3 separate regions of the Homo sapiens genome follow, and regions 1 and 3 are each linked to region 2. Evidence: promoter capture Hi-C in human tissues and cell types (Jung and others, 2019). All regions are on one chromosome and are shown on one strand. Each heading gives the region's core, a stretch centred on a gene start or on the middle of the fragment in contact. The rest is flanking DNA. Distances are from core to core; before and after follow the strand shown. Region 1 has its middle 21 kb from the start of LINC01616. Region 2 holds the start of KCNA4 (potassium voltage-gated channel subfamily A member 4). Region 3 overlaps ARL14EP-DT (ARL14EP divergent transcript).

Evidence for each region. The method cuts DNA at HindIII sites, captures the fragments that hold promoters and counts their contacts. A contact is called where the count stands out against the background at its distance.
Region 1: a contact is called between a fragment that was not itself captured here and the fragment with the promoter of KCNA4 in region 2, in 2 of the 25 tissues and cell types used here (dorsolateral prefrontal cortex and hippocampus).
Region 3: a contact is called between a fragment that was not itself captured here and the fragment with the promoter of KCNA4 in region 2, in 4 of the 25 tissues and cell types used here (hippocampus, mesenchymal stem cells, pancreas and 1 more).

The regions. Positions count from the first base shown.
Region 1 is chr11:29,959,340-29,962,844 of GRCh38, forward strand. No RefSeq gene overlaps it. Among named protein-coding and RNA genes, the nearest start is that of LINC01616, 21 kb to the right of the region's middle. The HindIII fragment of the contact is 4,926 bases long and covers 1-3,505 here.
Region 2 is chr11:30,015,608-30,019,386 of GRCh38, forward strand. KCNA4 (potassium voltage-gated channel subfamily A member 4) reads right to left here and starts at 1,423. Exons shown (of 2, transcript NM_002233.4): 1 at 965-1,423. The HindIII fragment of the contact is 10,149 bases long and covers 1-3,090 here.
Region 3 is chr11:30,066,257-30,069,646 of GRCh38, forward strand. All of the region lies in intron 1 of ARL14EP-DT (ARL14EP divergent transcript), which reads right to left. Among named protein-coding and RNA genes, the nearest start is that of KCNA4, 51 kb to the left of the region's middle. The HindIII fragment of the contact is 3,874 bases long and covers 1-3,390 here.

The DNA.
Region 1 (3,505 bases), core at 107-2,606, 56 kb before region 2:
ACTAAGTTCATGAGACTATGTTAACCAGAATATCCTGCTACTATTTTACTATAATAAATATAACTGACCCTCAAAATAGATTAACCTTTCTTTATGCTTGGTGGATGCATTAATATTAATATGGGCCTGCATTCAAATGAAGTCCCACATACATTAATACATAAATTTGCAAGGTCTCTGCATTCTCACCTACCCTTTGAACACTAATTCCAACTTGCTCTACAAATTTTTTCCCTCAAATATATCTAAGGATCTCCCAAGAGTATTCATGTGTCCAAGAGCCATTGTTTGTCACTGTTTTGCACCTGAAAAGGGCATAGCCCTTAAGACTGAATTTGACACTTACTGAAATTAGCATTTACATTTGCTGGCCCCCAACAGTCCTGCTTGCTAGTTTTGGTTAACATTGTCACTGAGTTGCTGTAGGTATTTTTGCATTGCTTTTGGTAGAGTTCCATGAATTCCCCAGACAAACACGATTCTGTGCTGAATGGTAAAGAAATAATGCTGTTACCTTTGAGCTACACTCACTTAATAGTCCCATAGCAAAACTGTTAAATGCCTAAGAATTTCCATGTTTTAGAGAAGTTCTTTCGATTCGACCATATGTAAATGTTTATTCCAAGGCATATCCAAGGTGTCAGGGTGGTTGCATCAAGATGGTTCCAGTGTGTCAGTCATCCTGGGCATGGGATCAGGACTACCCCTCCTTCAAAGTTTAGCCCCTAAAGAGAGACACAGCCTCCCTCATCAGAATTCCTTATGCCTCCAAGAAAGATGAGTTGTTTCAGCACCTCCTTGCTATTTCCCATAACTTGGCATTCATCAAGCCACCCTAATCCATCAGACATATTTCAGTATCTTTGAAACTTAAAAAAAGAGTCAAGCCCTATTTCTTTTCTCCCTGGAAACTCTTATTTCTCATGTAAATTAGCGGCACAAATAAATTCTAGCAAGAGTGATGTCACACAACTTTACCCTGAGGCATCCAAGCTACAGGAGTTTAGAGATGTTTCAGAAAACTGTTAAAGCAATTGTCTTCATCAACAAAGTTTGAACCCTAGACCTATCTAAAATGTCCTATTGTATGCACATGCATGCATGTAAACACACACACACATACACACAGATAGAGAGGGACAGATCACCTAAAGAGATGCTCAAAAAACTTCAGTGCTAATGAAAATGTACCAAATGGAAATCTAGACTGAAAAATTGGATGAAAAATATACAGATCAAGTGAGCAAGTAGGGTACATAATGAACTGCTTGATGGAGCCTAGAAATTTAATGAGCAACTTGAAAAATCATTTAATATCTGGTTGAGAAAGAACTAAAAGATCATTTAATCCAACCCCTTTACTTTATAGCTGAAAAAATGAAGATCTAGATTGATGAAGTGACTTCCCCAAGGTCACCCTGCTCTTCTGAAACAAATTTAGGACTAGAATTTTTCCATGACACTCTACCACTTATGATCCCTTCTTCTGTAATATTTGCTTGAAAGCTTGTCCTTTTGCTACTTAGATGAAAGATTTTCATCAAATCTGTTTAAGAGATCAGGGCACAGTTCTTTGAGTTAGAACACACAAGGCAAAAAAGATGTACAGAAGCCTCATTCCATCCTACAGCAGGAAACCCTTACTTGTAGCCTTCACAAGTAATCATAGTAATACTAATAATTATTATCATGTGTTGAATGTTCCTCATTCTTTGGGCACCATGACAAATTCTTCATGTTTTGTTTTTGGTTTTGGGGGATATCAGTCCTCAGTAAACACATAGAAATGAATTTAGAGAGCTTAGGTAACTTGTCCAAGGTATCTGGTTACTAAGTGACAGACTAGGATTCAAGTCCAGGCCAACTGACAGTACTCTGGAGGCAGAAGCAGATTAAAACCAGTTGTTTAGCATACTTAACCATGAAATAACACTTTTTCATAACCTTTATACCACTCTGACACCTGTTCTACTTTATTACCCCCATTATTGATTTCCATATCTCCTGTTCAATCCCTCCTTCCACCAATCTGTACTGCACACTGTTTCCACATTCACCTTTCTGAAGACTAATATGTGTGTCACACTCTCACTCCAAAGCCATTAAGCAGCTCTTCACAGTCTATTTAATGACTTGATATATAAAGCCTCCCTAATCTGTCCCAATCTACTTTTCTAACATTAGACCCCTTTTCTATCAAATCCTTTCTCTTGTCAATCAAAGTCACTTCCTATCCTTAATATGTATCTTGCAATTTATCCTTCACCCTTCCACATTTACTGAGTACCAACTATGTGCCAGGTCTTGTGTTAAACATTGAAAATAAAAACATAAAAGAGACTCTCCTTAAAGAAGTTTAGAGTGTTACAGACAGTCATTCAAACAAGTGATTTCAGTCAAGCAAAGAGATTATCATACCTTAAGCTGCTCAAAATTTGATGGAAACCAAGGTGAGCTCTGAGCTTTCACCTTTAAGTGTTTTTTTGTTTTGTTTTGTCTGGTATGCCTTTCGCAACCCACACCTCCATCTTCATCTAACTAGATCCCACAGAATCGGGTACAAATGCAACTTCCTTCACAAGGTTTTGCCTCATAATCATGCATATGTTTCTTCCTAAAAAATACAGTGAAAGTTCCCATTAAATGAGTTTTATTTTTTATTTTTAAATCTTGAAAGTTTATTCTTACAAAAGTCAGAAGCAGAAAATAAATGTGCCCAAAGTCTAAGGGTGATTACAAGGATTCTAGTGGTGAAAAGCAATGATTGTTTCTACTTATTTTTGCTTCAAAATATCTGACTCTCCCTTCCCTACTACACCCTATATCAGTTTTTATATTGGCTCACAACTAGACTGAAAAGGGGAGAAGAGGGTAGAAGAATTTTGTAATCTGAATAGCAGAGAGAGAAAAGAACACTAAAAGGACATGTGTGTATTGTGATGGCAAAGTTGCCTTAAATGAAATAAACTGGATTGCAGCAATGAAAGTTACCAGAAAATGGAAGCATAAGCGGGTAGACTCTTGATCTAGACAAGAGCCTTAGATCAAGCCAGAAGTATTGATCTAGCCAGAAGCATGCTGAAGAAATGCAAAACCAAGCAGTTCCAAGACCGGCCACTAGGCAATGTAGCCTACTCAGATTGACTTTCAAGACTACTTCTAAGAAACAAGCAGGTTAGGAAGCTGCCTTTACCAGCCAATCATGTTGCAGTTATCTGAATACATCCTAAACACAGGCTTTTTAAGTGCAGGGGTCCTGTCAAATTTCATGTTCCACAATGTCTAACACACTCTTGGGTACATCACAGGTACTCAGAAATTTTTGCTGAACGTATGTTAAATAAAAGAACAAACCAACACTTAGATGGTTGTAAAGGGCAACTCTAAAGTACTATACTTCACAGTTTACCAGACTTTTTTTTTTTTTTTTTTTTTTGGCATACTATATCAGTAGTGCTTCTGAGTACGTCATCATTCCAGTAAATGCTGCAATAAATCTCTGGAC
Region 2 (3,779 bases), core at 173-2,672:
TTCCTTTTAATCATCTACTAGTTACTTCACTATCCCTGATCTAGAAAGAAAGGGAGAGAGAAAGAAAAGAAGAGAAAAGAAAAATCATTCCTCCCAGCAAATCAGACTGGTTTAAAATCTCTCTTCTTTCTCAAGGTACTCTTGTTAGGAGAATCTATTCAAGCCAATTCCCAGGAGCCTTTATGAGAGAGATCTTTGCAGAGGAATTTGTCTTCTTCTTTAACACCATTAAACTAATAGGATTTTGCAGACTACCTATTCCCCAATCCCGGCGCCCCCAAACAACAGCCAAGCATCCCGCCCCTCCTCCTCTCACCCCTCCAACAACAAGGCTGTTCGTCTCTCAGTGCTAATTCCTGCAACTGTGTCACTGTCAGGGTGGTACCTGAACCTTAGAGAGAGAGAGAGAGAGAAAGAGAGAGAAACTGAGAGAGGGAATCAGAAAAGCCACCACCGTGAGAAATATACACTTCAACGCACGCCATTTATGCAGCCCCTATGTATGTTGCTCAAATGCTCGGAAAATGCACGCAAATCCAAACGTTGGAAGAGGCAGCAATTCAGACCCGTTCACCGGCTGTTCCCAAAAGAAGGGAACCGGTGCGGCTGGGAGGAGGCGAAACGATGCTAAATCTTAACCCCCCTCTCGTTGGGAAACGACATCTTTAATCGCGCCCTCGCCTCCAGACCTCGGTTCCCGCTCCAGCACGTTAAGCAGGGCGCACTCACCGCATCCCCGGGTTTGGGAAAATAACAACTGTTGGCCCCCCGGAGCGCCGCGCAGCATCCGCACCTCCCTTCTCCCACCTCCTGGTTTATTTTTAACCGCCTTCCATTCATGCCCTTCTGTCACATTCCCGATATTATTTATCCCTCAAATGTCCACTGTTTCTTAACAGCCAAAATAAGAAGGTAGAGGAAAGATACAAAAAAAAAAAAAAAAAAAAAAAGGTATCATACTTACCGTTCCCCGGCGGGGCGAAAAATAAAAATAAAGAAAATCCACCGGCTGGCTTGTTTTTCCCCCTCAAGCTGCAACAGCTGGAGGAGGGGAAGAATGATCCTGGGTGGGGGGCGGGGGGTGGTAAAAGGAATCACTCGGGTTTGGCAGGTGGAGGCTCCAAATATCCACGGAACAAGTTCTGTTGCCTGGCCCGAGGGGTGCACAGAGTCCTCGCGGCTGGAGCCTGGGGGTGGGGGTTGGGGCTGCCCCAGAGAAGACCCCAAGACTCCTGGTTCCTCTGGAGTTCAGCACAGGAGGGATTGCCTGGGAAAGGAAGTCAAGGTTCCCCCGAAAAGAAACAAAATCCTAGACAGCAGCGATCACTTGTTAAGCCCGAATTCCTCCTCCAACATCCATCCCTCTCTCGCTCTCGCTGGCTGCGGGAGCAGCACACGCCTCCCCTGGCCGCGAACGCGCTCTGGGCGGGGGCGGGGCCAGGGCCGAACCGAGGGTGTGGCGTTCGCGACGGTCGCCAGGGGCGCCTCCCGGCGCGGCGGGGCGGGTGCAGTCACGACGCCGCGACTCCCCGCACCCCGGCTGGGCCCCCCGACTCCCAGGATCTGGGATCGATTCCAGGAGTCTTTGGCTGTGGTCCCCACAGGCGAGGAGCAAATCCTGGAGAAGTGTCCCCGTTGGGGCCGGAATAGGGGTTTCGACGGCAGCGCGGGAGTCCCCAGAGGGCTTGGGAGCGGGGAGCTCCAATGGGAGGTGCAGTCCCGAAAATGGGGTCCTCTGGGACATCTCCTCTACCTAACTTGCTTTCTCTATATCTCCCCTCGAGCCCCGAGCCCCGTCTTCTTTTCCCCACCCCATCCCCTCCCAAAGCGGGTTTGTTGGGTTGGGAGCCGGGTGCATCTCCGGCGAGGCCACGGGCGGGGAGCCCTCCTGTGCCTGCCAGAGCGCCCAGATCCCTCAGTCTCCGTCTCCTTTGCACACAGGAGTTGGGAGGCTTCAGCGCCGGGGTTGGGCCTCAGGGGCGCGGAGGAGACCGACTTTCAACCTGTATTCAATCCCGGGCAGGGGAATGTTACAGAAATTGGAATCAGGCCCAGGCTAGGGGCTGCGCACAGGAGGCAGCAGTTCTAGGGGAGGAGGGTTGGAGAGATGAGTAAGTTGCAGGGTGGGCCAGGGGCTGAGGGCTTTGGAAGGCGGGGGAAGAGCCCGCAGCCAACCTGTTGCTGCAAAAACAAATACGGCTCTGGTATCGACTCCCTGAGGGCTCTTTGGATCCTTCAGGACAGAAATCAAGGGATATCGCAGCAAAAAGCAAGTTTTTTTGGTTTTCTTTCTTTCTTTCTTTTAATTAAAGCTTGTGCGCACAAGGGAGCTAACACCAAGAAAAAAAAAAGTGGGCTGTTCCTCGAAGTCAGGGTGTGGGTTTCTTTTACGGGCCTCTCCCGTAAGGGGAAATAAGGAGAACTATAGACAGGGCATGTAGAGGTGGAGTTTTTCTGGTGCATGCATGGTGGTTTAACATGCTTCTTCATAGGACGTATGTATCATTAGCATCTTAAATCTCCACCTCTGGGAAAGATTTTTTGCATTAAATTAAGGAAAAGGTCACTATGAGTTGAAAGTTAAACCTAGCCGCCGCGCATGCCAGGGCCTCGGGCAAGTCCCTGGTCCCCTAAAGCCGAAACTTCTGGTTAATAGCTTCTTGAGCTTTTCATGCTAATTGGCTGGAGTTACAGTTTGAGGAAGGGTCTCTCCTTGTTTCTTGTTTATTTCTTCGGACCACATCAAAACAGGAAAGTAGACAGTTTGCCTGTCTCAGGCTTGCCAGAATCAACCGGGCGAGAGGTTTGGCTCCCGGGAGGACTCTATCTTAGTGATCTCTCCCACTGCCCACCTCCATTTAAAAAAAAAAAAAAAAAAAAAAGGGTTTTGCTGTCCATCTCCACCCCACTCCCACACACGCGAGCGCGTGCGCACACACACAAACAAACACACACACACACACACACACACACACAAATAACCAGAAGCCCACGTGGCGACGGGGTCTCCCTAGACACCTCTCCCAGCTCGCCCGATGGACCAAGCAGGCAGTGGCAGCGCTATGCCCCGGACTGCTGGAGCAAATCCGACCTTGGGCTGGTTGGTTGGCGCCAGGACTGTCACTGTCGTCCTCGGGGCGGCAGCTTTGTTCAAGGGCTCTATTGGGCCTCCTCCTTTTGTGATGCTCAATTAATTATTAAGGGAAATATTCCCGAGCTGAATTATAGATATGCCTTGCACTCACTCACCTAACCGTTGCGGGCTCGGAAAAGGACACCTGGAGGGCTGCTTTTTGTTGCTGTTTGATTTTTCTTTTATCTTTTCAAATAACCGGACACACACACACAAAATCGAATTGTAATCAGTGTGAAAGAAAAAGAAGAAATGAAACCTGGAGTGCACCCTGGTTTTTCCAACGTCTTTCAGCTAGTGCAGCTTGAAATTTTGGCATGAATAAGTTTAACTGTAACCCCCTGGCCTCAACCCTGGTGGAGCTGAGAGAAAGGTATCTTCATGCTGGCTCTAGAGACGTTCTTTGCCTCAATTTATTCCCTACTGCAGTTCATTCGAAGAGCAGCAAGACCGGGTTTCTCTAAAAGTGAGAACGATCATGCTCACTCGCCTCAAACCCTCTCTGTACCTCCACAATGTGATATCACTGTGCAGTTTCATAAGTACCAGAAGCAAATAACTGGTAATATTTATTGTTGGCTCATTAGAAGGATATTTCTTGGGATAGTAAAAAGCAGGACTGGGACCTGTTTCCCAAAAGCAGTTT
Region 3 (3,390 bases), core at 599-3,098, 51 kb after region 2:
TCACTTTCAGGTACACCAATCAAACGTAGATTTGGTCTTTTCACATAGTCCCATATTTCTTGGAGGCTTTGTTCATTTCTTTTTACTCTTTTTCTCTAACCTTGTTTTCTCACCTTATTTCATTAATTTCATCTTCAATCACTGATACCCTTTCTTCCACTTGATCAAATCGGCTATTGAAGCTTGTGCATGAATCACGAAGTTCTCGTGCCATTGTTTTCAACTCCATCAGGTCATTTAAGGTCTTCTCTACAGTGTTTATTCTAGTTAGCCATTCGTCTAATCTTTTTTCAAGGTTTTTAGCTTCCTTGCAATGGGTTTGAACATTCTCCTTTAGCTCAGAGAAGTTTGTTATTACTGACCTTCTGAAGCCTACTTCTGTCAACTCATCAGTCATGCTCCATTGCTGGCAAGGAGCTGTGATCCTTTGGAGGAGAAGAGGCACTCTAATTTTTAGAATTTTCAGCTTTTCTGCTTTGGTTTCTCCCCATCTTTGTGGTTTTATCTACCTCTGGTCTTTGATGTTGGTGACCTACAAATGGGGTTTTGGTGTAGATGACCGTTTTGTTGATGTTGATGTTATTCCTTTCTGTTTGTTAGTTTTCCTTCTAACAGTCAGGTCCTTCAGCTGCAGGTCTATTAGAGTTTGCTGGAGTTCCACTCCCAACCCTGTTTGCCTGGGTATCACCAGCAGAGGCTGCAGAACAGCAAATATTATTGCCTAATCCTCCCTCTGGAAGCTTTGTCCCAGAGAGGCAGCCGCCTATATGAGGTGTCTGTCGGCCCCTACTGGGAGGTGTCTCCCAGTTAGGCTACACGGGGGTCAGGGACCCACTTGAGGAGGCAGTCCGTCCGTTCTCAGAGCTCAGTGCCATGCTGGGAGAACCACTGCTGTCTTCAGAGCTGTCAGACAGTGAGGTTTAAGTCTGCAGAAGTTGTCTGCTGCCTTTTGTTCAGCTATGCCCTGCCCCCAGAGGTGGAGTCTAGAGGAAGTAGGCCTTGTTGAGCTGTGATGGGCTCTGCCCAGTTAGAGCTTCCCAGCCACTTTGTTTACTTACTCAAGCCTCAGCAATGGCGGATGCCCCTCTGCCAGCCAGGCTGCCATCCTGCAGATTGATCTCACACTGCAGCGCCAGCAGTGAGTAAGACTCTGTGGGAGTGGGAGCCACCAAGCCAGGCACGGGAGAGAATCACCTTGTCTGCCAGTTGCTAAGACTTTGGGAACAGCACAGTATTTGAGCAAGAGTGTCCCATTTTTCCATGTAGTCTGTCACAGCTTCCCTTGGCTAGGAAAGGGAAATCCCCCAACCCCTTGTGCTTCCCGGGTGAGGCGATGCCCCACCCTGCTTCAGCTTGCCCTCTGTGGGCTGCACCTACTGTTCAACCAGTCCCAATGAGATGAACCAGGTACCTCAGTTGGAAATGCAGAAATCACTTGTCTTCTGCATCAATCCTGCTGGGAGCTGCAGACCGAAGCTGTTCCTTTTTGAACCATCTTGGAACACCCTCCTTATGAATAATTTTATATCTGGCAAACCTATCTGACAAAAATTAAAGAGAAATTAAGACAGTGCTAGGTAAACAAAAACTGAGAGAATTCATCCCTACCAAACCTACCCTACAAGAAAAACTAAAGGGAGTCCTTTAGGAGAAATGAAAACAAACTAGAGAGTAACTCTAATACGAAGAAATAGAAAGATTAATAAGGGTAATTACATAGGCAAATATGAGAGATAGTATAAATATATTTTAGTTTGTAACACTTTTCTTCTTGCATATGGTTAAAAGACATAAAACTGTGTCAATGTGCTTGAAATGTACTAATAAGTAATATGTATAATAATAGCACACAAGTAGGGAGGCAATGGAGCTATAGGAGAGCAAAGCCGATGTATACTATCAAAATTAAGTTGTAAGTTTGAATCTGTAATAGATTGTTTTAAGTTAAGATGTTAATTGTTTTGCACAAAGCTTCTGCATGAAGCCCTAACACAACCCCTTTTGCTCAGGTCATCAGAACACTTATTCTATTTTATGGAATGAAGTGTTGCCCAGTTCTGAAATCACAATAAAGCCAATTAAGATCTTAATTAAGTTTGTTGTAATTTTGTCTTTTGACACCAATTACTTGGTGAATGGATAAACAAAATATGACATATCCATACACTGTACTGTTCAGTTATAAAAGAGAATGAAATATCAACACATTTTATAACATGGCTGAACTGCAAAAACATTATGTGAAGTGAAACCAGCCAGAAGTAAAGGACTACATATTATACAATTCCATTTATATGAAATCTGAAGAAATGTCAAATCTATAAGAAATCAAATTAGTGGTTGACTGGGGCTGGAGAAGGGAACAGAGATTAATTGTAAATATGCTAAAGGGAAATTTTCATGATTAAATCTTCTCAATTGGATTGAGAGAACTGTTGCACAACACTGTAAATTTACTAAAAATTATTGAATAAGATGTTTAAAATTTGTGATTTTTTTGGTATATAAATTATACCTCAATACATGTAAGTATACCTTAATATGTAAAATTCATAAAAGTTATAAGCATCATCCCATCTATCATTTACTTGCTTTAAAATTATTCAACAGATTCCTAATGTTCTTAAGCAAATTTCAAAATCCTGCATACTCAAGTCCCTGCTTGTGCTTCCAGATTTATCTGACCCATCTTTCCCTTCTCATTGTACACCAGGCCCCCTGGCTTTATTGACTTTCTCTTGTTCTTTCAAAAGCTCTACTTGGGGCCAGGCATGGTGGCTCATGCCTGTAATCCCAGCACTTAGGGAGGCCAAGACGGGCAGACCACGAGATCAGGAGATCAAGACCATCCTGGCCAACATGCTGAAACCTCGTCTCTACCAAAATACAAAAAATCAGCCAGGCATGGTGGTGCGCACCTGTAGTCCCAGCTACTTGGGAGGCTGAGGCAGGGGAATTGCTTGAATCTGGGAGGCGGAGATTGCAGTGAGCCAAGATTTTGCCACTGCACTCCAGCCTGGCGACAGAGTGAGACACTGTGTCAAACAACAACAATAACAACAACAACAACAAAAATGCTCTACTTGGTTCCTTTCTTACTCAGATCTTTGTTCTTCCTTCCTTCTTAAACATTTTTAGAGGTATAATTCATACCCCCAAAACTGCACATATTTAATGTCCACATCTTGATGAGTTTGGACATACGGGACATATGCACACACCAACGATACCATCACTGTAACCCAGGTACTAAACATATCCATTACCTCCAAATTTTCCTTGTGTTCTTTTGTGTGTGAGGTTTTTTGTTTTTTTTTTTTCTGTCATTTGGAGTTTTTTTCTTTTTGGCAAGAACACTTAGCATGAGACCTATGCTCTTACATTTTAAAG